Regions from separate parts of the Homo sapiens genome. Here all the other regions are linked to region 2. Evidence: promoter capture Hi-C in 16 types of primary human blood cells and fetal thymus (Javierre and others, 2016). All regions are on one chromosome and are shown on one strand. The core of a region is centred on a gene start or on the middle of the fragment in contact, and the rest is flanking DNA. Distances in the headings are between cores, read along the strand shown. Region 1 overlaps SARAF (store-operated calcium entry associated regulatory factor). Region 2 holds the start of INTS9 (integrator complex subunit 9). Region 3 overlaps GTF2E2 (general transcription factor IIE subunit 2). Region 4 has its middle 33 kb from the start of SARAF. Region 5 has its middle 5.3 kb from the start of LEPROTL1. Region 6 overlaps LEPROTL1 (leptin receptor overlapping transcript like 1). Region 7 overlaps DCTN6 (dynactin subunit 6).

The links. Contacts are between HindIII fragments. The CHiCAGO score rates a contact against its expected background, and 5 or more counts as called.
Region 1: a fragment that was not itself captured here is called in contact with the fragment with the promoter of INTS9 in region 2 in 1 of 17 cell types (fetal thymus); the score reaches 7.9 in fetal thymus.
Region 3: a fragment that was not itself captured here is called in contact with the fragment with the promoter of INTS9 in region 2 in 1 of 17 cell types (fetal thymus); the score reaches 5.4 in fetal thymus.
Region 4: a fragment that was not itself captured here is called in contact with the fragment with the promoter of INTS9 in region 2 in 7 of 17 cell types (naive CD8 T cells, fetal thymus, naive CD4 T cells and 4 more); the score reaches 8.4 in naive CD8 T cells.
Region 5: a fragment that was not itself captured here is called in contact with the fragment with the promoter of INTS9 in region 2 in 1 of 17 cell types (fetal thymus); the score reaches 9.3 in fetal thymus.
Region 6: a fragment that was not itself captured here is called in contact with the fragment with the promoter of INTS9 in region 2 in 2 of 17 cell types (activated CD4 T cells and fetal thymus); the score reaches 5.4 in activated CD4 T cells.
Region 7: a contact is called between a fragment that was not itself captured here and the fragment with the promoter of INTS9 in region 2, in 1 of 17 cell types (fetal thymus). The highest score is 5.7, in fetal thymus.

Annotation. Positions count from the first base shown.
Region 1 is chr8:30,071,711-30,075,334 of GRCh38, forward strand. SARAF (store-operated calcium entry associated regulatory factor) reads right to left here. Exons shown (of 6, transcript NM_016127.6): 2 at 2,167-2,345. Among named protein-coding and RNA genes, the nearest start is that of SARAF, 9.5 kb to the right of the region's middle. The HindIII fragment of the contact is 3,292 bases long and covers 651-3,624 here.
Region 2 is chr8:28,887,312-28,891,298 of GRCh38, forward strand. It overlaps INTS9 (integrator complex subunit 9), which reads right to left and starts at 2,658. Exons shown (of 17, transcript NM_018250.4): 1 at 2,563-2,658. The coding sequence starts at 2,571. HMBOX1 (homeobox containing 1) reads left to right here and starts at 3,084. Exons shown (of 10, transcript NM_001135726.3): 1 at 3,084-3,367. RefSeq lists enhancers at 2,441-2,997, 2,637-2,836, 2,998-3,554 and a silencer at 3,207-3,326. The HindIII fragment of the contact is 2,854 bases long and covers 1,716-3,987 here.
Region 3 is chr8:30,654,180-30,657,866 of GRCh38, forward strand. The region is part of intron 1 of GTF2E2 (general transcription factor IIE subunit 2); the gene reads right to left. Among named protein-coding and RNA genes, the nearest start is that of GTF2E2, 2.2 kb to the right of the region's middle. RefSeq lists an enhancer at 2,586-3,257 and a silencer at 3,642-3,687. The HindIII fragment of the contact is 1,487 bases long and covers 1,446-2,932 here.
Region 4 is chr8:30,047,867-30,051,817 of GRCh38, forward strand. No RefSeq gene overlaps it. Among named protein-coding and RNA genes, the nearest start is that of SARAF, 33 kb to the right of the region's middle. The HindIII fragment of the contact is 1,666 bases long and covers 1,108-2,773 here.
Region 5 is chr8:30,088,109-30,092,133 of GRCh38, forward strand. No RefSeq gene overlaps it. Among named protein-coding and RNA genes, the nearest start is that of LEPROTL1, 5.3 kb to the right of the region's middle. The HindIII fragment of the contact is 2,401 bases long and covers 728-3,128 here.
Region 6 is chr8:30,107,152-30,111,095 of GRCh38, forward strand. It overlaps LEPROTL1 (leptin receptor overlapping transcript like 1), which reads left to right. Exons shown (of 4, transcript NM_015344.3): 4 at 1-1,373. Among named protein-coding and RNA genes, the nearest start is that of LEPROTL1, 14 kb to the left of the region's middle. The HindIII fragment of the contact is 320 bases long and covers 2,261-2,580 here.
Region 7 is chr8:30,161,466-30,165,431 of GRCh38, forward strand. DCTN6 (dynactin subunit 6) reads left to right here. Exons shown (of 7, transcript NM_006571.4): 2 at 2,646-2,710. Among named protein-coding and RNA genes, the nearest start is that of DCTN6-DT, 6.8 kb to the left of the region's middle. The HindIII fragment of the contact is 5,050 bases long and covers 83-3,966 here.

The sequences.
Region 1 (3,624 bases), core at 1,047-3,546, 1.2 Mb after region 2:
GTGGTCTTTTGTGACTGGCTTCTTTCACTTAGCATAACATTTTCAAGATTCATCCACGTTGTAGCATGTATTACTATTTCACTTTTTTATGGCTAAATAATATTTCTTTGCATGGATATACCACTTTTATTTATCGTTCATTAGTAATGGACATTTGAATTGTTTCTACTTTTTGGCTATTATGAATAATGCTGCTATGTATATTTGTATGCAAGTTTTTGTGTGGACATGTGTTTTCAATTCTCTTGGGTGTATATACCTTGGAGTGGAATGACTGAGGCATACATGGTAACTCTACATTTAAACTTTTGAGGAACTGCCAATTTTCCAAAGCAGCTGGACCATTTCACATTCCCAACAGCAGTGTATGAGGGTTCCAATTTCTCGACATCCTCACCAGCCTTGTTATCTTTTTTATTATAGCCTTCCTACTGAGTGTGAAGTGGTATCTTACTGTGGCTTTGATTTGCATTTCTCTGATGGCTAATAATAAGGAACACTTTTCATGTGCTTATTTATTACTTATATATCTTCCTTGTAGAAATGTCTATTCAGATGCTCTGCCATTTTTACCTTGGTTGTTTTCTTACTGAGTTGTAAGAGTTATTTTATATTCTAAATACAAGTCCCTCACCAATTATGATTTGCTAAGCTTCCTCCCATTCTGTAGGTTGTCTTTTCACTTTCTTGATGATGTCCTTTGATAGTCAAAAGTTTTTCATTTGGATAAGATGCAGTTTTTCTTTTGTTGCTGTTACTACACTGTTTTTAAAATAATTTTATTTGGAGGAAGATTCATAGGTTTGTTGACTTAGGTAAATAAAACAAGCTAAACTTGTATTGGTATTTCATGTTAACTACCACTTCCTTAATCATGCGTACTTACAAGTAGCTTCTAAGTACTGTATTTAAATTTCAACTCTTGGAATAGAAGGAGTTTCTGTCCTGCTACTAAATGGCCTCTCTCCTGCTACTAAACATAAGCCAATGTATGATATGCTCAACACTCCTTTGCTCATGCTATTCCCTTCTCTAGCCTTTCCTCTCTAAAAATGTTATCATTCCTTCCTAACACAGCACAAATGTCTCATCCTTTAAGTCCCAATGGCTCCAACCAGACGTGACTTTATAATGTTGTGTTGGGACCTACATGTAATCTGAGTGCCTGTCTTACCTCTTCTACTAGTAAGACAGTTTCTTCATTCTACCTTATTCATTTTTGTATATTGCAATTAATACATGCTTAATGAATGACATCACCATTACTGCCTTTTTTTCCCATCAAGACTCTAAAAGTCATAAGTAAAGTGGAGTGAGACTTCTGCTATAACCCAGAGAATTCTATGATTCAACTTAGCAGTACTGGGGGAAAATATTGTGAAGTAAGTATCACCCAGTACACATCAACTTCCTCTCTGAATTGCAAAGACCACGCATAAAGGTTGTATCAAACAAGAATATCATTCTGATGGAGAGGGGAAATCGTCAACATAAGTTTCTTGCCTTGTGACCAGTCGTCTTAAATCAATTTTGAAAGCAGTCAGAATACAAAGTAGAAATATGTAACTAGTGATTTAAACTGAATTCATTTAATAAAATCTATCTCTAAAGCATATTCAGTTTTGGAACTTCAAGGAGATGCTCTGCTCGTATACAAAACACCAGCGTCCCAAAGGCAATCAATGAAACCTGCCGAAATGCTTCCTTTCAAAAGTAACCACCCTCAGTTCTAAGACAATTTTAAAATCAAGTGCTAGAAGCACAATAGAGATATATGAACCCCTACTATTTACGATCTATAATTCCTAATTATCTTAACTTTGTCTTAAGGGTAGGTTGGTATTCTTTGAGGAACGACAGGAAAATGACAACCATAAGATATCCCCTATCCCTCACCCTCAAGTATATAAAAAGTTGTGAAAATTTACAAATATCTTAGAAGGAGGTCACGATACAAAAACTAAAATGAGTATTTTCAGGCTTTAAAATCAGTTCATTTCTTTTGGAGGCCATTTCTTCCACAGGAAGAGTGATTGATTTACTTACATATTTTAGGCTGATCTGAGATTTCCGTAGGTGCACCCTCAAAAGACTGAATAATGTCCCAATAAACAATTTACTGAATAAAAACCCCATTTAGACTGCCATTACTGTAGTGGATATTACCTGTACATCATACCCATCCCAGCCTTTGTTCTGACACTGTATGACTTTTGGGGTATAAGAATCACAACCAGCTGTGCCTCCAACACATTTCAACTGTGGGATGGGATCCAGCCTGCGGGAGGTGGTATAGCGGTCATAGTGGAGGGTAAGAGCTTTTACATCCCGCAGCAACATTCTGTCTGAAACAGCAAGAAAACAGAGGAACACAAAGTAAGTATCGTGTCAGAGAAAGAAAGGTTCATCCTAACGAAACTCTCGTCATAGGAAATGCCTTTCTTGCCTTCTGAGGATGGCTAAGAGAGGATGAATCTATTTCTCAAAACTATCCCAACAACATTCAGGCCTTCTGAACAAAATTCAGGTCACACTTTTAAGATCTCCCTGCATTTCAGGCCAGATGCTTCTACAGCACAAGTTGTACATCATTTTTGCTAAATCAAAAGAACAAAAAGTTCATTAACCTGAAACATTGTACTACTGTGTAATAATAATAGTGGTTAATTAAAATGGCAAGAATATAAGCATGTTCCTGAAGCACATTTAATGCTTTAAATGTCCATCAACAGGTGAAGAAATTAACACATTCTGACCTATTACAGTGGAATATTACATAGCAGTTAAAATGAGTGAACTAGAATTCATGTATCAAACTAGATAGATGGCAAAAACATTTTAAACAAAATACAAGTTGCAGAATGTTTTGTATGACAGCTTTACATAAACCTTTAAAAAAGGCAAAACAGTACTACATACTGTTAATGTCTATATATGTATATAATAACAACATGAAAACATGTATGGGAAGGATTTAACACCAAATTCAAATAAGTATCTAGTCTAGGGAGAGAGAAAGAAAAGAGATTTTAGCTCTATTCCTAATGTTTTATTACTGGGAGTGGGGGATTTGTAGCAAATATGGCAAAATATAAAGATTCAATAAAACTGGGTGATGACTATGTGTAGGTTCATTGTACACTTCTGTATGTTTAAATACTTTAGGTATTTCATAATTTTAAAAATCAAAACTATTTAAACTATTTCACAAACTAAAAAATTTAAAACATACTGACAAGAGACTTTGAAAGGAGGAGTCAAAACAATAAAATTATGTCTGGCATTCATGTGCAAAAATGAAATTTTTAGGTTGGGTGTGGTGGCTCACACCTGTAATCCCAGCACTTTGGGAGGCCGAGGCACGTGGATCACCTGAGCTCAGGAGTTCGAGACCAGCCTAGCCAACACGGCGAAACCCCATCTCTACTAAATATACAAAATTAGCCGGGAGTGGTGGCACATGCCTGTAATCCCAGCTACTTGGGAGGGTGAGGCAGGAGAATCGCTTGAACCTGGGAGGAGGAGGTTGCAGTGAGCCAAGATCACACCATTGCACTCCAGCCTAGGCAACAAGAATGAAACTCCATCTCAAAAAAAAAAAAAAAATGAATTTCTATGCATTAT
Region 2 (3,987 bases), core at 1,408-3,907:
AGAGGAAAGAATGAATTTGAGAGGGTTAAGACTGAATGCAGAGAGACCAGATAAGGGGTCTTGTTGAATTCCGATTACAAAGACAGTATTCTAGTTGGACTGGAGAGAAATAGAACCTATTTAAGAAAGCTGCATTTAGGAAGCAGAATCAATAAGAGGTGGTCATAGATTGTGTGTGGGAAGGGTACTCTGGAAAGTGAATCTCAAAAATGAGAAAATGCTAAACAAAATGTGTTTTTGTTTCATAATTATAAATTTAAAACACAGCCTATTACATATTTCTGAAGCAGTACACAAAATTAAAACTTTTAGGCCATGGGAGGACTTATTCCAACCATTTGGGAGGCATGACACACCCATCTAACTTACTGAGCAACAATGCTTTTGGTATGTTGATGGGAATTCTCAATTACATTTATCTATCAACTACCAAATAAATTTTAGTATGTAATACATAGTTGCAAAGTAAAGAGGGAGTATGAGTATCAATAGAATACTTCCTTTTCCTCTGAGACATCTTTGGTTCTTAATGGAAAAAATAATTTTCCACTTTTTTACAATCCCCGGTTTCATATTTCTAAATAAATTAAGCAGGAGGATTTTATGAGCAAACTAAAATATATGTAAAGTAAACCCTGGCTTTTTGATACCCTCACTAATGAGTTGTTATGGGAAAAACTATTTCACACTTCCCTGCCTTCTTAAACTGAACACATTAAATATAATTTGCTCTTTATTGAGAACACAGGGTCCATGCTTTAGCCAATAAGGTACCAAGCTCTTATGCTCCTATAAGCTGACCTCTTTCATGGAAGGCCCTGGCTTACTTATCCTTATCAGTTCAAGAGTCACGTTTCCAGGAAGCTGTCCCCTGACCTCCCCAATCCTCTGTTCTCTGAATTCCCAAAACCCTGAACACGCCTCTATTTCACCATGAACACAGTGAATTATAATTTCGGACCAGGCATGGTGGCTCATGCCTGTAATTCCAGCACTTTGGAAGGTTGAGGTGGGCAGATACCTTGAACCCAGGAGTTTGAGACCAGCCTGGGCAACATGGTTAAACCCCATTTCTACAAAAAAAATAAGCAGGGTGCAGTGGTGCGCGCCTGTATTCCCAGCTATATGGGGAGACTGACGCGGCGAGAGGATCGCTTGAGTCCGAAAGGTGGAGGTAGCAGCGAGCTGAGAACGCGCCACTGCACTTCAGTCTGGGCCCCACAAAGCCAGACCCTGTCTCTAAATAAATAAATAATAACTTTGGTTTACTTTTCTATCTTCTTCTTAGGTTGCATGCTTCTGTAGGGCAACGGCTATGACTTTTAATTCTGCATTATTAAATGTGTAACACACTGACCCAGGGGTAAGTTGCTATTCTCAAGGTTTAGTGACCCGCATCCTTCCCCTTATATAAACAGATTTATACGGGGACAATTTCGGAATTGAATCCACTTTTAATACTTTCTCTGACTTCGCAGAAAACAGCTGGCTTTGCAGAATATATGCCTGTAGCACAATGATTATCAAGATGAGGGTAGGTGTGTTGTGTGGTTTGGCAAAGCATGTTCAGATAATTATATAAATGGTAAAAAATAAACTTTTTTTTTTTTTGAGACAGAGTCTCGCGCTGTTGCAAGGCTGGAGTGCAGTGGCGCGATCTTGGCTTACTGCAACCTCTGCCTCCCGGGTTCAAGCGATTCTCCTGCCTCAAGTAAAGCTTGACAATAACTTGGCTGCACAAATATGGGTTTTAAAAGGTTGAGAAACAGTGTTTCACACCTGCCTTTCTACACTATGTTATTAACTAATTGAATCGAGTTGGAATAAACTAGTTAGACTTGTGTGCACAATGAGTCAAATGGCTCAAATCAAAGGTCTGAGGAGCCTCCATGAACCAGGTGCTTGAGCTGTGTGATGTTAAGACTTCAGGTATACCGAGCACGCTTCATTCAGCCTTGGCTCATGAAGTCCCTACAGTCTTAGAATGGAATACCATATAACACTTCTCTGCCCATCTAAATCCCATGCAGGGTTTAAGACTCAACTTCTCCACACTCTGACCTCGTCCTGAATTCCAAGGGCAGTGAGGAGTCTATATAACAGGATATTTAATAAGTGATTACGTTCTGCTGGATGTTTTTTACTGTCTGCTTAAATCTAGCCAGTCTCAACAACAGTAGGGAGACAGGATACTCAAGCGCCAATCGAATGGAAACGGATTGTTAACAGCCTATTATAACCCTCACGTGGGAACCAGGACGTCCAAACCTGGTTAACAGAGCCCACAGAGTTCATGGGCGAAGGACTGTGACAGTCAACCTCTTGTCTGAACAAAAAGACCCACTAACGAGTGAAAAAAGACCTCCTGGGAGGGATGGGGTGGGGGAGAGGGAATTCAAACCTTCTCAACAACAAAAAGCAGCTTTCCTTAGCCCACTCCACTTTCCAGCTCAATAATTGCTACCCCTCCCGTGCGACGATTCCCTGCCCAACGTAGGAAAAAAAGAGGTCCAAAAGGTTATAGCATCACCTTTGCCCTCTGACCTAGGAGCGAAGACTCACCAGTTTCATAATGGACTTTTGGTGGTTCAATAGCAGTCACTGAACTCCTCAAACCCAGGAAGCGTCTTCCGGTGCAATCTCCGCCACCTGCCAGCCGAGAGCATCGCGGGACTTGCAGTCTTTCATCCTCACGTCCCTTCCAGGGGAATAATGGGAAATGTAGTCTCCCCTCCAGGCATCATGGGAACTGTGGTCGCCTTTCCTTTTCCTCCCTTTCCTCTCCGAACGCCTCCTTCCGTCAGCTCAAATTCATCCCAGCCGCCAATGCATCCTCCCTCTCCACCCCAGCATGATATCATGTCTTCCTTACGGGCCTGGGGCCCATGGTGTTCTGGGATGTGTAGTCCCGACGGCTCCGACTCCCCTTTCCCTCCTCCCAAAGGGAAGGCGGATGGGCACGGGGCTTGCCGGAAGTTGTAGTTCCCTTGGCCCTCTAGGCGCCGGGCTCCGCAATTTTTCTCAGGGGAGGCAGGAACTACAACTCCCAGGGACGCCCGGCGGCAGCAGGTGGGAGAGGGGCTGTTGATATCAATATGGCGGTTGTCAGCCAGACAAAGACAGTCAGTCTGATGTGATTGAGACAAGGGAGGTTTTTCAGGGGGAGACTGGGAGATAGGGGCCTCCCCTCCCCCTTCTCCTCTTCCTGCGCCGGCCTCAACCCCTCCCCAGTCCCCTCCCGACGGGCGCCCCACGCGGAAGACACCCCTCCCCCTCCCGCCTTCCCTCCTCCCTATCTCAGCCCTTCGTACTGGGACGTTGGGGAGGGGGCTGTGCCGGGCGGAGAGAACTCAGCGAGGATTCTGAGGTGAGTCGAGCGGTTTTGAAGCCGGACTACCTCAAGTCTCTTTCCTCACTTCTTTCTCTTCACTTAAAACAATTTTTTTGGAGGGGTTTTGGGGAGGAAGTGAGCGGACGCTGGGGATGGGTCTCGTAAGCGGCCGGATTGAGAGGAGGGAGGAAGCAGGGGGCTTCCGAGTGGGTGACCCAGACGCGGGCTGTGGGGTGGGGCAGTTCGTGGGGTCCGGTCCTGGAAAGGCGTCGACTGCCCCCCAACTCTTCTGGTTTCCTCTACGATGAGCGGAAGGTTTGAATCCTGGAGGTGGGGTCTCCGGTGTGGAGTTCTGGAAACTGTGAGGTGATTTGCAGGTGTGTTGGTTTGTTTGGGGTGTGTAAGTGTGTTTAAACTGTGTGACGTGTACTTGTGTGCTCTGCTCGTCTTGGAGCGGTGTCTGTAGATGGGAAGTTAGACAGCGCGAGTCCTCGCTCGCTCTGGGCCTGGGCTGAGGGGCGGGCGTGAGGTCCTGGTGCTGGGCGTTTGGGCTGGCGACGTGGTGCGAGGCGGCCGGGCTCAACAACTCGCTTGTGTCCCGTCGCCCGCTCACACTCTGCCACTCGCCTCCGCCCCCTCCCCTGGACGAATCTCCA
Region 3 (3,687 bases), core at 939-3,438, 1.8 Mb after region 2:
ACATGTGCCTATTAAACATGTGAAATGTGGCTAGTTAAAATTGAGATGGACTTTCAAGTGTAAAAACCCACAAGATTTCAAAGATTTAGTATAAAGAAAAAAACTATTTAATTACTAACGAGATATTTTACATTAATTACATGTTGAAGTGATACTATTTTGAATATACTGGGTTAAATAAAATGTTAAAATTAATTTCACCAATTTTTCTTTTAAAATATGGCTATTAAAAAAAAATTAAGAGACAGTGTCTCACTGTGTTGCCCAGGCTGGAGTACAGTGGTGTGATCATAGCTCAATGTAGCCTTGAACTCCTGGGCTCAAGCAATCCTCCCACCTCAGCCTCCTGACTAGCTAGTACTACAGGTACACGCCACCACACACAGTTAATTTTTTTAAAAACTTTTTAGAGACAAGGTCTTGCTATGTTGCCCAGGCTGGTCTTGAACTCCTGGCCTCAAGCAATCCTCCTACCTCAGTCTCCCAAAGCACTAGGATTACAAACATGAGCCACTGCACCCAGCCTAGAATATTTTTAATTACACGTGTGGCTCACACTTCCCACTCCCATTATATTTCTATTGGACAACACTGCTGTAGAAACATGAGGACTACAGGGCAGAAATTAGAAGAAGGTGGATTTAGGCTCACTGCAAAAAAAGAGAACCATCAGAACTGCTTATACATAAAATGGCATATTTTTACAACTGGTGAACTCTCAATTATTAAGTGATGAAGAGGCTGAATTATTATACTATTTGTTAGAAATGTCTACAGAGAGCCGGGCACAGTGGCTCATGTCTGTAATCCCAGCACTTTGGGAGGCTGAGAGACCAGCCTGGGCAACATAGTGAAACCCTATCTCTACGAAATTAGCCAGTCATAGTGACACATACGTGTAGTCCGGGCTACTCAGAACGCTGAGACACGAGAACTGTTTGAGTCCAGCAGAGGTTGCAGTAAGCTGAGATCCCGCCACTGCCCTCCAGCCTGGGGGATACAGCAAAACTCTGTCTCAAAAAAAAAAAAAAAGTCTACAGAAAATTTCCAATTTGGAGGGAGGTGGTTTGAGGCAACTTCTATGTTGTGGTTGTTGTTTGTCTAGTTCTAAAATTACAACTCAAAGCAATTTCACTACAACCAGGGAAGCTACAGGTCAACCAACAAGAATTCTAAACACACCTCTCTTCTGAACTCTGCTAGAACCCTACAGAGGGTCTATGAAGACCTCAAGCTGACTATATAAATGAATTTGACACTGTTAAGACTAGTGTCAGCTGGGAGGAAAAAGACTCATACTTTGAAAGCTTTTAAGCACAGATAGCTCAATAAATATTTGTTAAATGAACAACACATGGAACATCATCTTTAAATTGCTCTGGTCCCATTATTACTGGTTTCACAAGCCTTTATTAAATATCTTGTTTGTGAGGCACTGTGCTCTAAGCTTTGAAAGGTTACGGAAGATAAATCCTTGTCTACATGCTGCTTAGATTTGAGAAAATGGAAGCATTGAGCTAAAAATTTTAAATATAAGCATTGATAAGAAATAATCAGACTGAATTTCAATTAAGGCGTGAACAATCACTGGACGGTGAATCAAAAACCTGCCTTCTCTCAGTTTCAATTTTTTTTTCTTTTTTTTTGAGACAGAGTCTCGCTCTGCCGCCCAGGCTGGCAGAGTGCAGTGGTGCAATCTCGGCTCAATGCAACCTCCGCCTCCTGGGCTCAAGCGATTCTCCTGGCTCAGCCTCCCGAGTAGCTGGGACTACAGGCGCGCAGCACCACGCCCCGCCAATGTCTGTATTTTTAGTAGAGACGGGGTTCATTCACCATGTTGGCCAAGCTGATCTTGAACTCCTGACCTCAAGTGATCCGCCCACCTCAGCCTCCCAAAGTGCTTAGATTACAGGCGTGAGTCACCGCACCCGGCCTCAGTTTCAATTCCTAAAGCCACCTGGCTAGGCAACCCACAAGGCCTCTACATTCAATTTCATAAGTGAAATGAGGACGCTATGAAAGCTGTCCACATCCAGCCCAATTGTAAGAATGAGAAAATGTGTATGTTATTTTTTAAACAGTAAAGTCATAAAAACGTGTTATTTCAGTATTACTATTTTGAGTTGGATCTGAAAGAAGGGAATGATTTACCGGGCTGAGGAAAGTAGGAGACAGCCTTGGGAGGAGGGAAAGCGTGGGGCCAAGAAGAAGAAAGGAGAATTGTCAAGTGAGAAGGTGGGAGCAAAAAGTAAATTTCTAGAACAGGAAACATTTGTGTCTTATTTCACGTTGCAAAGGCAGGACCTCAATCTGGACTTTAAAAAAATTACTCTAAAAGATTTAAATAGGCCGGGCGCAGCGGCTCACGCCTGTAATCCCAGCACTTTGGGAGGCCGAGGAGGGCGGATCACGAGGTCAGGAGTTCTAGACGAGTCTGGCCAACATGGTGAAACTCCGTCTCCATTAAAAATTTAAAAAATGTGCAGGGTGTCGTTGCGGGTGCCTGTAATCCCAACTACTTGGGAGGCTGAGGCAGGAGAATCGCTTGAACCAGGGACGTGGAGCTTGCAGTAAGCCAAGATCGCGCCACTGCACTCCAGCCCGGGCGACAGTGCGAGACTCCGTCTCAGAAAAAAAAAAAAAAAAAAGTAAATAAAGCCGTACAGTTTACAACAAACTAAATGCTTACAGTATTTGACCCTCGCAACTCTAGGAGCAAACAGGTATTAGTGTTATTCCTATTTTAATACGTGAAATCTGAAGTGAAGCTGTCTGGTTAAGGTCGCACAGATGGAAGAGCCAGGGCCAGGAACCAAACCTCCTGACTCCTAACTCAAGTGCTCCTTACACCAGACCTGGAACGCTGGTAAAGGCCTTTAAAACAAAGGCCACCTGTGAGGTTCGGGAACGTTCAAAGGCATCTAGAGCAGAAAGCTTCGCAATGTCTGTCTTTCACCATCACGTGCTCCGCCTAACTTTTCCTCCTTTTTCAAAGACTACCCAATATGTGTACTAAGTTTTAGATCTCTGGACCCCCCTATGGAGTAAACAGGCTACATCACCATGTCCATTTTACAATTAAACAAAACCACAACTCAAGGAGTTGGCTGGTTCCTCCGTGGGCAGACACGGAAAACCCAAAAATTAAACTGAAATCTGCCTCCAAGCCCACGATTCTTGCCACCATTCGACCTCTTTCAACCTTACTACTTCCCCTCTCTTTCACTTTTACCCAGCCTCGTTAGTGTCCCTGGCACCTCAGGACCCGGCTATGAAAAGCAGGCTGCTTCGCCCTTAAATGACGGAAGTGGGGAGGTGGGCGAAAAGGGGGCCGCAGCGTTGTTTAGACTGCAGAAATCAACTACTATCGTTAAAGTTTAGGGATCATCACAAACCAAATCTCCAAAAGGTAGCCTAGAAAGCAGTCCGCGTATGAGCATCATTTTAAATCACAGTCTTGAGCTGGCTGGACCCCGCGGCTGCTCAAACTCCACACACGGTTCGCTTGGCTACCGCGCCCGTGAACTTGGAGGCTTGGAAGAGGCACAGTCAGGCGGCAGACCGCGAATTTTCCCTCTTTCCAACCCAAAAGTTTGCTCAATGAACCTCTGGCCTAAAGACAATGCTCCGGGGAACGGTTCGCGTGCTGGGTGTTTCGCTTCGAGAACGGCGGTCCCAGCTTCCCGT
Region 4 (3,951 bases), core at 691-3,190, 1.2 Mb after region 2:
GGACCCTGGTCTTAATTTGAAAACACATACACCCCTCACTTTCTTTTTCCCTAAGAAAAAGAGGTTTCCGTCCAGGCGTGGTGGCTCACGCCTATGTAATCCCAGAACTTTGGGAGGCCGAGGTGGGTGGATCATGAGGTAAAGAGTTCAAGACCAGCCTGGCCAACATGGTGAAACCCCAAAAATACAAAAATTAGCCAAGCATGGTGGCAGGTGCCTGTAATCCCAGCTACTCAGGAGGCTGAGGCAGGAGAATTGCTTGAACCTGGGAGGCCAAGGTTGCAGTGAGCCAAGATTGCACCCCTGCACTCCAGTCTGGATGACAGAGCAAGACTCCATCTCAAAACAAAAAAAAAAGAAAAAGAGGTTTCCATAACTTCTTTGAAATCAAAATAACCATCAAACCTCTCCATTCTTTGACTATTCTTCTTGTTTTTTGTTTTTTTTTTTTTTTGAAACACAGCCTCACTCTGTCGTCCAGGTTGGAGTGCAGTGTTGTGATCTCAGCTCACTGCAACCTTCACCTCCCAGATTCAAGTGATTCTCCTTGTCTCAACCTCCTGAGTAGCTGGCATTACAGGTGTGTGCCAGCACGCCCAGCTAACTTTTGTATTTTTAGTAGAGATGGGTTTCATTATGTTGGCCAGGCTGATCTTGAACTCCTGACCTTAAATGATCTGCCTGCCTTGGCTTCCCAAAGTGCTGAGATTACAAGCGTGAGCCACTGCGCCCAGCCTATTCTTCTTTCTTATGACCAGGCTTACAGGGTAAGGCAAGAAAGGGAAATAATGAGATAAAACAATTTCTTTATCACCTTTCACTTGATGACTTCTGGAAGCTGGTGTTGGAACAGCAATGTCCCAGAATCACAGACACTTAATGATGGAAGTCATCTGAGAAGCATCCTTGCCTGTTGCTCCGCCACACGGGCATTTTCCCTACAGAAAATGACAACAGATCCTTTCATTTCCATGAAGTCCAATAACTAACTAATAATTGTGAGTTATTTAAAATATCAAGTTAGGCAGTATTGAACTAATAATAAGAATGTATACGCAATGAGGAATCTGACTCCACTTTTTGATGCTTGACTGCTGACAGCTTTTAAGCTTCCATCTGCCTCTGCAGGGACCGAAACAGCATATATTTAAAATAATTGGCCAGGCACAGTGGTTCATGCCTCTAATCCCAGCACTTTAGGAGGCCGAGGCAAGAGGATCTCTTGAGGCCAGGAGTTTGAGACCAGCCTGGGCAACATAGTGGGACCCATCTCTACCAAAAATGAAAAAAATATTAGCTGGGTGTGGTAGCACACACCTGTAGTCCCAACTACTCTGGAGGCTGAGGTGGAAGGATCGCTTGAGCCCAAAAGTTCAGGGCTACAGCAAGCTATGAACCCACCACTGCACTCCAGCCTGGGTGACAGAACAAGACCAATTTAATTAATTGATTATTAATGTAATTAATTACTTATTAATTAATTAGCTAATTGATTTAATTTAATTAATTACTTATTAATTAGGAGGTTGAGGTGGGCGAATCACTTGAGGTCAGGAGCTCGAGACCAGCCTGGCCAACATGGTGAAACTCTGTCTCTACTAAAAATACAAAATTTAGCCGGACATCGTGGCCATGGATGTGGGGGACGACACTGCCATTCCAACACCAGCTTCCAGAAATCATCAAGTGAAAGGTAATAATAAGTAATAAGTAATTAATTAAATAAGAAAAGAAAATAATTGACTTACCATTATGTTTACCATCATGCTTATGCATCCAACAATAAAGACAGTACAGTAAACAATATTCCCAATCTGCTTGTTGTCATGATGCTTTAATAGGTCCCGGATTCAAAAGACTTCATTCTCCCAGTAAGACATCCTACTTGCAAAGACTTTCCTAAATATCATGGTTTGGGTTTTTGTTTTTGTTTTTGTTTTTGTTTTTTTTATTGAAATAGAGTCTCACTCTGTTGCCCAAGCTGGAGTGCAGTGGCGTGATCTTGGCTCATTGCAACATCTGCCTTCCAGGTTCAAGCAATTCTCCTGCCTCAGCCTCCTGAGTAGCTGGGATTACAGGCGCCCACCATCACGTCCGGCTAATTTTTGTATTTTTAGTAGAGACAGGGTTTCACCATGTTGGCCAGGCTGGTCTCGAACTCCTGACCTTAAATGATCCGCCCACCTCAACCTCCCAAAGTGCTGGGATTACGGTTGTGAGCCACCATGCCCAGCCTAAATATCATGGTTTTGAATAAGCACAGTGTCAATTTCTCTAATTTGTGTCATCATTCCACATATAGGGTGGGCTGTTGTATAAGGTGAAGAAAATTGATGTATGATCCATTGGTTACTCATTCATTCAATATGTGTTGAATACCTAGTATGAGACAGGCACTGTTGCGAACAATATGGACATAGTATAGAACAAGATAGACAAAAATCCCTGTCCTTGTGGAATTTATATTCTAGAAAGAGGGGGTAGGAAAAGTAATAATAAAGTAAATTATATAGTAAGTCAGAAGATAAGGGTTATAGGAGAAAATAGAACAGAATAAGGGAAATCCAAAGTCCTAGGGCAGAAATGGGGAAGTGAAATTATCATTAGAGTGGTTTGGTTTCCTTACTGCTGTTCACCAAATACATATGGTTTTTGATCTCCAGGCTTATACTAGGATTGTACTTCCCTATCATATTAAAGTTAAGTACAGCCATAGGACTTGTTTTGGCCAATGGAATGTGAGCAGAAATGATGTGTGTGATTTCTGGACAGAAGCTTTAAGTATAGTGTGTGATTCTCCACATGCCTCTCCCACTGCTGCATGCCATAGGAAGCTTCACTTGGCCAGAATTCCTGAATAACATCATGAGCCAAAGCCCCTGCCAACCTGTGTTAGACACTTGGTGTGAGCTACATATTAAGCTAATGAGATTTTTGGTCTTGTTTGTTACTGCAGCATAACCCGACCTATCCTAACTGATGCAAGTTGTCAGGGTAGACCCCACTAAGACAGCAAATGATAGTGGCTTGAACCTGAGTGACAATAGCAGAAGAGATGAGAAGTCATCAGAATCTGGAAATATTTTGCTGTATGGAAAAGAGTTAAGTCCTATATGATTGAAAATGTGAGACCAGTTACAGCAGACTACATTGATTCTAATAGTATGTCAGAGACATTTTGTGTAAAAAGGGGAAATATACTTGTGTAAAAAGGGGAAGGGTTCTAGGGGCAATCTTTTATGGTCTGGTGACAATCTGGAAGGAAATAAATAATCTATCTAGCAGGTTTACAACAGCATAAGCAACCTACTAAATATTAGGAGATTTTACTGTCCGCAATGAGATTTCTGACTTGTATAGTGGAGCATTATTGCCCTCTAGTGATAAAAGAGAAAATGTACTTAGAGAAAAGGAAAGTGACAACCAATGATTCTGGGAAACACTCAATTCGAAATTTGGGGTATTCTTTGGGCCATGACTGGTTGCTTTCTAACAACTTTTGACTGGGAGACACCATGAGCAATTGTATATCTGAGAAGATAAAATCTGGCATTGCTTTTCAAAGTTATCCATAATTTTCAAAAAAGTGAGAATCCTGAATCCGTGTTGGTTAAGGTGCCAGGATTATTGTAAGTATAAGAATTAGTAGTGATATCTACTACACAAATATTTTATTGTCTTCCATAAAAGATAGGGACAAGTAAGGGGATGAAGATTAATGTGTGTAACTGATAATTCCTGAACTTGGTGTTCTTTGTTTTGCTTTGTTTTTTTAACCAGTTGCACAAATGAGGAACGGTGAGAGACTTCCTGTTAGTAATTCAGTGAAATAGTAGTTAGTGAAATAGAGTGGCATTTTTTTTGTCACTTTCATAAGCTCAATATGAAGTAGTAGAGAGATGTAGCTTCCCAAAAGGCTGCAATCATGAAATGTTTATCCAAAAGAAAGTA
Region 5 (4,025 bases), core at 678-3,177, 1.2 Mb after region 2:
GAGCCGGCTCCCTCCTCTCCCGGAGAAGTGTGGAGGGAGAGGCGCGGGCGGAACCCGGGGCTGCGCCCGGCGCTCACCGCTCGCGGGCCGGCGCAGGTTCCGGGTGGGCGCGGGCTCCACGGGCCCAGCACTCAGCGCAGCTGGCCGGCGCCTGCTGGGCTTGATCAGAGGCTGGGTCCCGTGCGTGCACCGCCATTCCCTCTTCGCAGGGTCGTTGGCCAGAATGGCGGGTCTCCCTCTCTTTCTCGCTTCCCCTCTTTTCCTCTTGGTTGTCTGGGACAAGCTCCTTCTGGGCTACTGGAGCACCCGGGGTAAGTGCCGCAAAATCCCGCGAAGAGCGCCAGTGAGAGGTGAAGCCGGCTAGGCTTCTGGGACCGGTGGGGACTTGGAGAGCTTTCTGTCTAGTTAAAGGGCTGTAAATGCACCAATCAGCACTCTGTGTCTAGCTAAAGGTTTGTAAACACAACAATCAGCCTCTGTGTCTAGCTAATCGGGTGGGGACTTGGAGAACTTTTGTGTCTAGCTAAAGGATTGTAAACGCACCAATCAGCACTCTGTGTAGCTAAAGGTTTGTAAATGCACCAATCAGCACTCTGTCAAAACGGACCAATCAGCTCTCTGTAAAATGGACCAATCAGCAGGATGTGGGTGGGGCCAGATAAGGGAATAAAGAAAGGCCACCAGAGCAGCAGCGGCAATCCGCTGGGGTCCCCTTCCTGGGTGTGGAAGCTTTCTTATTTTGCTTTTTGCAATAAATGCTGCTGCTGCTCACTGTTTGGATTTGTGCTGCCTTTATGAGCTGTAACACTCATAGCGAAGGTCTGCGGCTTCATTCCTGAAGCCAGCGAGACCACGAACCCACTGGGAAGAACAAACAATTCCAGACGGGAGGAACGAATAGCTTTGGACGCGCCACCTTTAAGAGCTGTAACACTCACTGCGAAGGTCTGTGGCTTCACTCCTGAAGTCAGCGAGACCACGAACCCACCAGAAGGAAGAAACTCCGGACATGTCCGAACATCAGAAGGAACAAATTCCGGACCCACCGTCTTTAAGAACTGTAACACTCACCGTGAGGGTCCACAGCTTCATTCTTGAAGTCAGTGAAACCAAGAACCCACCAATTCCGGACACAACTGGTCCCTAGACCAGTAAACCAAAAATGGTCCTTAGAGTGATGAGTGTTTTTGTGCTGGAAACACTGAATCTCATGGGAAAGATAAGGAGCACAATCTCTCAGGATTCTGTGACCATGGAAGAAAAGAATGTAGATTCCTGTAACCTGATGAGTAATCCCAGTTGCCCATGAATGTTGTCAAGGACATCTGTAATGCCAACACATTTGTACTGAAAAGAGCAAATCAGGCTGGGGGTAGTGGCTTACACCTGTGATCCCAGCCCTTTGGGAGGCCAAAGTGGGAGGATCTCTTGAGTCCCAGAGTTCAAAACTAGCCTGGACAACATGGCAAAACCCCGCCTCTACAAAAAGTAAAAAATTAGCGGGCCATGGTGGTGCATATCTGTGGTCCCAGCTACTCGGGAGGCTGAGGCAGGAGGATAGCTTGAGCCCTGGAGGTGGAGGCTGCCATGACAGGAAGCTACCATGACTGTGATTGCTCCACTGCACTGCAGCCTGGGCAACAGGATAAAACCCTGCCTCAAAAAAAAAAAAAAAGGGAAATTTATCTTTGTAGCTATCTTATCCTACATAAGATAGCTACAAAGATAAAAATAATAATAAAAATAAATGAAAAAAATAAAGCTACATACCTACCTCACAATTTGCCCACAAGGATATTCCTTGTGGACAAAGGACAGAGAGAACTCAAAGTCATCCTTTGCTCACTGTGAGACAAATGCTTATCTGATTGCTTCCTTTGCCCTGTTTTTTCACTAACCCAGACTAAAGCATAAGTGACTATACCTGTAAATTGTGTATTCAGTGAAAGGCTAATCAGAAACTCAGAAGAGGCCAGACATGGTGGCTCATGCCTATAATCCTAGCACTTTGGGAGGCCGAGGCAAGTGGATCACTTGAGCTTAGGAGTTCAAGACCAGCTTGGCCAACATGGTTAAACCCGTCTCTAACTAAAAATACGAAAATTAGCCAGGTGTGGTGGCACATGCCTGTAATCCCAGCTACTTGGGAAGCTGAAGCAGGAGAATCACTTGAATCCAGAAGACAGATGGTGCCACAGCACTCCAGCCTCAAAAAAAAGAACAAAAAAATTAGCCACGTGTGGTGGTGGGCACCTGTAATCTCAGCTATTCGGGAGGCTGAGGCAGGAGAATTGCTCGAGCCCAGAAGTTGAAGGTTGCAGTGAGCCGAGATCGCACCACTGTACTCCAGCCTGCAGCTTGGGTGACAGAGTGAGACTTGGTCTCAAAAAAAAGAAAGGAAGAAAAAGAAACTCAAAATAAGGCAACCATTTGTCTCTTATCTACCTATGACCTGGACACCCCCTCCCCACTTTGAGTTGTCCCGCCTTTGCAGACCGAACCAATGTACACCTTATATACAGTTATTGATGTCTCATGTCTCCCTAAAATGTATAACACCAAGCTGTGCCCCAACCACTTTGGACACAGGTCATCAAGACCTGCTGAGGCGTGTCAAGGGTGCGTCTTCAACCCTGGCAAAATAAACTTTCTAAATTGACTGAGACCTGTCTCACATATTGTGGGTTCACAGAACAAAACAAGAAAAGGTGTTGTGGTAGGTGACATGTGGGATGGAATTATTCACTTCTCCAGGAATTCCACCTATCCATTCAAGATGGCTGGGGAGAAGGACGTATATGCCTGCTTCAGTAGTTTAGAGAAAGGAGCTGGTGGCTCACAGATTCCGTGTAAACAGCGTGTATTTCCATGGCATATGTTCAAGTGTGCCTTGTGGTTTTGTTACCACATCCTTAAATGGAAACTTTTTTCATGATACAGGAAAGAGATGGTAGATCTTTCTGCACTAACTTGAACAGAAAAAAATTCTACTCTCCTACAAAACACCCATAGACTCATTTGGTGCATTAAGACTCAAGAAGTGACCTGTTTGTTGTTGTTGTTGTTGTTGTTTAAATTGTAATTCAACTCTAGAAATAGTAGAGAGAAGCGAAGTGGGTAATGCCTCAAGCTTCCCATTTGCTCTCATTTTAAAGCATATTGGAAATATCTCTTCTAAACATTCACTCCACAGTCTTACATGCCACTTTATGTTAGTCTGATGACTGAAAAAAAGTTAAAAATTCAAATCGTACGTAGCTCACCCCCACCTACTTCCTTTTAAAACCTTCAAAAGATTTTTATTGCTCAGAGAGAAAACCCAAAACTGCTTGTGTACGTCCCTACTATATAAGCATGCTGCCCCACCCCAACCTTGACCAACCCCATTGGCCACCTCTCTTTTCTCCAAGGGACCAAGCAAGTTCCTTGCTCCATTTGCTGCCAAAGCTCCTAACTCCCCACCACACATACATACATGCGCGCACGCAAACACACAAACACACAAAAACACAACACACAAAACACACACAAACACACATGCACAAACACACGCACACACACAAACATGCATACACACGCAAACGTGCACAAACACGCAAACACATGCAGGCACACACAAACACGCCCACAACACAGACACGCACGCACACAAACACACATGCACGCACAAACGCATACACAGACACGCACACAAACGCACGCACAGACAAACGCACACACACAACACCCAAACACGCACAAGGACGCACACACACGCACACACAAATACCCATGCACACGCAAACACGTACACAAACACATACACACAAACACGCACAAACACATGCATGCACACACACATGCAGGCACACACAAACACAAACACGCACACACACAAACACACGCAAACACACACACACAAACAACACACCCCGCCACCTGCGATGGCTTTTCCGTTCTCTATTAACACATTTATTCATCACTGTGTTGTCTCTCCTTGGGGGAAATTTTCCTTGGCAGATCGCAATCAAAAGTTTTCAGAGAAC
Region 6 (3,944 bases), core at 1,171-3,670, 1.2 Mb after region 2:
GATCTGCTGTTTCCTTATAAAAGGCATTTGTTGTGTGAGTTAATGCAAAGTAGCCAAGTCCAGCTATATAGCAGCTTCAGAAACATACCTGACCAAAAAATTCCCAGTAACCAGGCATGATCAATTTATAGTGGTCGTTTACATCTAATAATTATCAGGACTTTTTTCAGGAGTGGGTTATAAAAACATTCAAGTTGGTCTGACAGTATTTTGTTAAGGATATTTGTTTGTATGTTTATTCAGTATACTTACATAAAAATTATTTCGCCATCAGCCAAAACTCAGTAATCATGACAGCTGTCTGTTGTTTTATGAAGTTTATTTCTCAAGAAAATGGGAATAAATTTGGGATTTGTTCAGCTTTTTTACTAAAGATGCCTAAAGCCACAGGTTTTATTGCCTAACTTAAGCCATGACTTTTAGATATGAGATGACGGGAAGCAGGACGAAATATCGGCGTGTGGCTGGAGCCTTCCCACTGGAGGCTGAAAGTGGCTTGTGGTATTATAATGTTCAGATTTCAAGAGGAAGGTGCAGGTACACATGAGTTAGAGAGCTGGTGAGACAGTTGGGAACTCTTTGTGCTTGTGATCTACTGGACTTTTTTTTGCAGGAAGTGCATTCTCTGGTCCTTCCCTATTTTCTGTTCTGGATGTCAGTGCAGTGCACTGCTACTGTTTTATCCACTTGGCCACAGACTTTTTCTAACAGCTGCGTATTATTTCTATATACTAACTGCATTGGCAGCATTGTGTCTTTGACCTTGTATACTAGCTTGACATAGTGCTGTCTCTGATTTCTAGGCTAGTTACTTGAGATATGAATTTTCCATAGAATATGCACTGATACAATATTACCATTCTTCTATGGAAAGAAAACTTTTGATGATGAAACAATAAAGATTTTAAATATCTATTTTAGTTTGTGGGTGTTTTTGAAATGAAAATATATGGCACACTTTCATTCTGAAGTGCATTAACATTCTAATAAGGTGATGTAAAGCAAGATGACATTGGTGTAATGTTAGAGTTGCAGAAGTTTCCATTCCAAAATAAAATGGAAACCATAGTTACAGATATTACAATGCAGCCCTGTAATTTTGAGCTGTAGTAAAAGGATTGGTAATCTGGGAAGTAGAATTTTTACAAAATCTTTTACAAAAATAGTCATAAAAGGTTTTGTTGACATTTAAGACTACTACTGATCTAAAGGCAAGGTCCTACTTCTTAAATTTTCAGAACATTTTTATGACTTCTTATTATGTATTTATTACCACTCATTATTATAGCATGTTACTTTTTGCAAACATTTTAAACAAAAAATATTTCTGTTTGGTACACTGTGAAGAGAGAAAAGTACTGTTCTGTATTTTCAAATATTAGTCGTGTCCCAAATTGTCCTAATTATAATCTTATCATATACTTTAAAAAGTTTAGGCTGTGGACACTAAATGTCTGCTCTAATATGATTTTGGGGACATTGTCAATACAGATTTTTTTTTTTTTTTTGAGACTTGCTTTGTGCCCAGGCTGGAGTGCAGTGGTACGATCTTGGCTCACTGCAACTGCTAGGTTCAAGCGATTCTCATACCTCAGCCTCCTACGTAGCTGGGATTACAGGCATAGGTCACCACACCTGGCTAATTTTTGTATTTCTTGTAGAAACATGGTTTTGCCATGCTGGCCACACTGGTCTCAAACTCCTGGCCTCAAGTTATCGCCCTGCCGCTCAGCCTTCTGAGTAGCTGGGATTATAGGCCTGCACCACCACGCCTGGCTAATTTTCGTATTTTTTGTAGAGATGGGGTTTTGCCATGTTGGCCACGCTGGTCTCAAACTCCTGGCCTCAAGCCATCACCACCACAACCCCCCTCAAACCACCCCCCCGCCCCGAAAAAAAGTGCTGGGATTACAGGCGTGAGCCACCACACTTTGGCCAAAATAATCCAGATTTCTAAAGTCTAGGATATTTATATTGAATGTGACTAGATTTTTAAGTTTCAGATAACTTTTAATCAATGCACCAAAGTTAACAAGCAACACAACGTTATTGTTAAGTGGTATGTGTGTTTTAGATCCCAGGATGCTTTATGATGTATACGATTGGTGGGAAATTGAAATTCGTATTTCTTCTCTATAAGCTTGTATTGCCCTTTCTTTCAGTGAAGATTAGGAGCTCTGATTTTATTACAGGTCTGTTCATTTTATGGCATTCTCAAGGAAGAAAACATGTCCTGTAGGTAAATATTTTAGATCAATGAAGCTTAGCTTACTAAGAACTAATGTTTGTTTTACTTTAATCATTTGATGAAAGTATTAAATGGATTGTACACATGTGCTTTCTTAGAATATATTAAAACACTTTAATTTTTCCTTGGTAATTTAGGACTATCATCATAAACTATTTCCCCCCCATTGTAAGTGGCTGCCGACCTGTATTTTTCTGGAATTGTGTTTTTGATCCTTTTCATACAACTGAGTATTTGTTTCTAGCACCCCTTAACTTATTTTGTTTCCAAGTTGCTGACTTACAGTATATTAGGAAGAGTGGAAAGTGGTCAAGAAAAAAATAAGGCAACCAAGCTTATTAAATCAATTATGTAACATTTCTGTACACAGTACATCAGTGGACTTAATTAGGGTGCCTCCTACCTCTTACACAAATGAAATGCTTTGTGACAGGTATTCTTCCTCTTGAAAGGCTTTTTTAAGAAAAAAATAATTTTTAACTGTATACTAGATAATCTGAGATTGCAAAAGGAGCACCAGATAAGGGAGGTGTTACCATGCTGTGCAGCAGAAGAAGGCTTATAATTAAGTTTACTACACTTTAATGTTGGGGTTATTCTGAGCTCAAGATACTCATAGACCTTTGTCTGATTTCCAGGGTCTTATATCTCACTTCACCCTTTGTGTTTAGTTACTGAAAGTTTAGGGATGAAGATAGATTTACAGTTTATTTTTACAAGAAACTTTATACTGTATGCTTTGCTTCCAGTCTCTTGAAGATTATTTGAATTCATCTGTGGGTTTATGCCCATACACATGGTTAGTCACAGTAATTCAGATATTAACTGTTAAGCTTGTAAATTCTAGCAGAGGGTGGTGGGAACAGAGCAAATCCAAACCTGTTTCTATGAGTGAGAGATTAAGACCATAAAACACTTATCTTTCAACTGTAATTCTGCAGAGTTTTGTATTTAGAGGCAGTACTCCGTGTGTGTGTGTGCGTGCGCGCGTGTGTGTAGTGGGGGCAGAATCAGGAATTTTTTTTTACTTCAAAAGCCAGTAGAGGCTGGGCATGGTGGCTCACACCTGTAATCCCAGCATTTTGGGAGGCTGGGTTGGGGGGCGGTGCGGATCACTTGAGGTCAAAAGTTCGAGACCATCCTGGCCAACATAGTGAAACCCCATCTCTTCTAAAAATACAAAAATTAAGTCGGGTGTGGTGGTGGCGCCTGTAGTCCCAGCTACTTGGGAGGCTGAGGCAGTAGAATCGCTTGAACCCAGGAGGCAGAGGTTGCAGTGAGCCAAGATCACGCCACTGCACTCCAGTCTGGGTGGCAGAGTGAGACTCTGTCCCAAAATAAAAAAAAAGCAAATAGAATGTCTAATACTATGAAAGAGAAGCGTTGTGGCAGTTTACAACCATAGAAACCAGCCAATAGAATAAAATACTAAAGAATAAACCTGAGTATTTCCATATCTGTTTGTAAAAGCATTAGTATTTATTAATTATCTTGATATATAGTGTGTCTGGCATTTAATATTGGAAGTATCTTTTTCTCTTGGTAGATCAGTTTATTGTATAATATCATGTAAATACAACTGTGACATAAAAGTAAATGAACTTGTGTAGATTTGGGAACCTCCCCAAAATAGGACAGATGTTTTCCTGAAAGCTAGGTTTACTTATGTCATCTATTTGAAGATTGTTTCTGAAAG
Region 7 (3,966 bases), core at 1,358-3,857, 1.3 Mb after region 2:
GACATTGTTGGCTTGGGAATAGGAATCCTTCAGTGACTTCTTGCCTACAGGTGCAAATTCAAATCCCTGGTCATGGTGTACAAGCTTATTCATGGGCTGATCCTGCTTTTCCTCCCAGCCTTACCTGCTCCCTTTCTCTTCATGATTTTTGTGCTTCTTCTCATTCAGTGATGTCCAACCTGGGAGGGGGGAAGAGGTTTTTACTTTGTTACTTACCAGTCTTTGCTTAGATGTATGCATATGGTATTTAAAAATAGATAGAATAGATAAAATTGTGTTTTAATTTTTTTTTTTTTTTTTGAGACAGAGTCTCACTCTGTCGCCCAGGCTGGAGTGCAGTGGCGTAGTCTTGGTTCACTGCAAGCTCCACCTCCTGGGTTCACACCACTCTCCTGCCTCAGCCTCCCAAGTAGCTGGGACTACAGGCGCCCACCACCACGCCCGGCTAATTTTTTGTATTTTTAGTAGAGACGGGGTTTCACCGTGCTAGCCAGGATGGTCTCGATCTCCTGACCTCGCAATCCGCCAGCCTTGGCCTCCCAAAGTGCTGGGATTACAGGTGTGAGCCACCACGCCCAGCCTTAATATTTTTACATAAGCATTCTTGCACAAACATTTACACCTTTCTTTTCTTTTCTTTTCGAGATGGAGTCTCGCTCAGTCACCCAGGCTGGAGTGCAGTGGCGCTACCTCGGCTCACTGCAAGCTCCGCCTCCTGGGTTCATGCCATTCTCCTGCCTCAGCCTCCCCAGTAGCTGGGACTACAGGCCACCACCATGCCCGGCTAATTTTTGTATTTTTAGTAGAGACGGGGTTTTGCCATGTTGGCCAGGCTGGTTGGTCTCAAACTCCTGACCTCAAGTGATCCACCCACCTTGGCCTCCCAAAGTCCTGGGATTACAGGTGTGAGCCACCATGCCCAGCCCAAAACTATTGTATTTCTGTATACTGTGACAATTGGAAATCAAAATTTTGAAAAATCCAAACAAAATTACAAAGACAAAATATCTAAAATGTTAGTGTTATTTCATAGTAGCTGAGAGCAGATTTAACACCATGAATGTCATTGCCATTTAGAAAAATTCTTTTATTAATGAAAAGAAGTTTCCTAATAACTATCACTGTAATGGAGAAGTCATTTGATGTACTTCCTCATGTCAGCTCATGGTTCAGCTAGGGTCAGTGTTTACATACAGCTTTGTCAAACAAAAGATAACAGCAGAATATAAAAAAGCATCAATAAGTTATATGGAAATTATTAGAGTCTTTTGAAGAATTTGTACTACAATTTATATTACTTGGTAAAAAGTTTCTCATATATGTGTATGTATATATATATATGAGAGTAAACAGAAACATTTGTAAATTTTAAATTTCTAAGTTAGTATTACCTTGCTGGTTGTTAAATAGTTTGAATGTATATTTTTTCTTCCTACCTTTACAAAAATAATGGCATATTACATACTGTCCATTTTCTCACTTCACTCTTTTTTACTTTTAACAATATAGCTTGGAGATCATTCCATATTTTTTTTTTTAAGAGATGAGGTCGCCGGGCACGGTGGCTTATGCCTGTAATCTCAGCACTTTGGGAGGCTGAGGTGGGTGGATCACCTGAGGTCGGGAGTTCGAGACCAGCCTCACCAACCTGAAAAAACCCCGTCTCTACTAAAAATACAAAATTAGCCAGGTGTGGTGGCACATGCCTGTAATCCCAGCTACTAGGGAGGCTGAGGCAGGAGAGTTGCTTGAACCTGGGAGGCAGAGGTTGCAGTGAGCCGAGATGGTGCCATTGCACTCCAGCCTGGGCAACAAGAGTGAAACTCTGTCTCAAAAAAAAAAGATGAGGTCTCACTATGTTGCCCAGGCTGGTCTTGAATTCCTGGGCTTAAGCAGTTCTCCTTCCTTGGCCTCCCAGAGTGCTGGGATTACAGGTGTGAGCCACTGTGCTCAGCCATTCCAAAATCTTGACAAGAGATTATTCATTCTTTTTGATGGCCATGTAATAGTCCATAATGTGCCATAATTTATTAACTAATCTTCCACTGATGAATATCTAGGTTGTTTTCAGCTTTTTGTTGTTTAGAAACGTGCTGCTATTAAAAGAAAAGATTCAAAACTCTTCTCAAGTGTTTTAGCACATGTGATTTGGGATGATGGACAATATACCAATTGAAAAATTTATAATGTATTAAAACCTTACCCTCTTACCATTGACTTTCCATTTTTCCATCTTTTTTTTTTTTTTTTTCCTGAGACAGAGTTTCACTCTTGTTGCCCATGCTTGAGTGCAATGGCGCGATCTCGGCTCACTGCAAACTCTGTCTCCCGAGTTCAAGTGATTCTCCTGCCTCAGCCTCCCAAGTAGCTGGGATTACAGGTGCTCGCCACCACGCCTGGCTAGTTTTGTATTTTTAGTAGAGATGGGGTTTCTTCATGTTGGTAAGGCTGGTGTCGAACTCCTGACCTCAGGTGATCCCCCCACCTCGGCCTCCCAAAGTGCTAGGATTACAGGCGTGAGCCACTGCGCCTGGCCTTTTTTTCCATCATTTTTTAAACCTTGTTTTCATTACAATGTCACGGTAGCTCCTCCAACAGTATGTTTAATCTTACCCCTGGTAAATGTTACCTTTTTCTTGCTACAGTGTGAAGATTGCTCCTGGAGCAGTTGTATGTGTAGAAAGTGAAATCAGAGGAGATGTAACTATCGGTAAGAAATAGTTTATTTACTGTTTTTCAAGAATTGATGTGATTTAATCTATTTTAGTGCTTTACAATTAGATACCGTCTTCCATGTTTATTTCACTGATGTCCTAGTTTTATTGACAAAATAATGCATTTTCTCCTATGTGTTTAAATTTCTGAAAGAATGTAGTGTGATGGAGGCTGTGTTTAAACTCCTATCTGAAATACTAATGAGGCTGTATAACAAAGTCATTCATGTATTTAAGAGAGATCTGTTGTGTACCTGCGATGTGCCAGGCACTGTGCTAGTGCTAGAGACACGTCAGTAAGCACAGCAGACAAAGGTGCTGCCTTTGTGGAGCTTCGTGGAGAGCGTGGGCCATGGAGTCAACAGACCTGGGCTACTCTGCTCCTTGCTCCTTTCTTGCTGGGTTACTTTGAACATATTACTTAACCTCTCTAACCTTGATGTTTTTCCCATCTATATAATTGTGTGTATCAGGATCAGGTTCGGCTGCATGTAGGGGTGGCTTACACCTGCAGAGGTTTATTCTCTCATATAAAAAGTTTCAAGGTGAGTAATGGAGGGCTGATCGGTTGATTGTCCAGCATGGAGCTCCGGCCCTGCAGGCCAGGAAGTGATGGCTAGAGCACCAAGCATCATCTTGGATGAGAAAGGGGAGGCGTGGAAGCAAAAGGGCATGTGTTCCAGCTGTGAGTCAGCTCCCTTTAAACAGCCTTCCTGAAAGTTCCACACGACCCTCCTCTGTGTGTCTCATGGCTAAGACAATCTCATGGACACATCAAGCTGCAAGGGAGTTTGGGAGTTGTAGTCTTAGCTGGTTGCATTGCAGCCGCTAATGAGATCAGGGTTCTATTACAAGGAAAAAGAGGAGAAGAGATATTGGATGGCAATGAGCAATTTTCATAACATGCAAAATAGTAGTATCTACCTCCTAGGTTTCTTGAAAGAAAACATGAAAATTGTGAGTAGTAAGCTGTCAATAAATATTTGCTGTTAACGCTGTCAGATCTTCTCAGTGTAGCCTTGCCAGAGTTCAAGTCCAACATTTTACTTACGTGAACTTGACTAAGTTCCTCAAACATTTTACTCTGTTCTTTTAACTGGGGTTTACCTGGATATGGTGCCCTTGTAGTTTTATTGGTGTGAGCTCATTCTTACCAGCAGCCGCATGTCACCTGTATGCTACCAGACTAAAGTGTTCAGTGAACTATTACACTTTCAGAGAGGAAATACACTTTATTTCCTTAAATGAACAG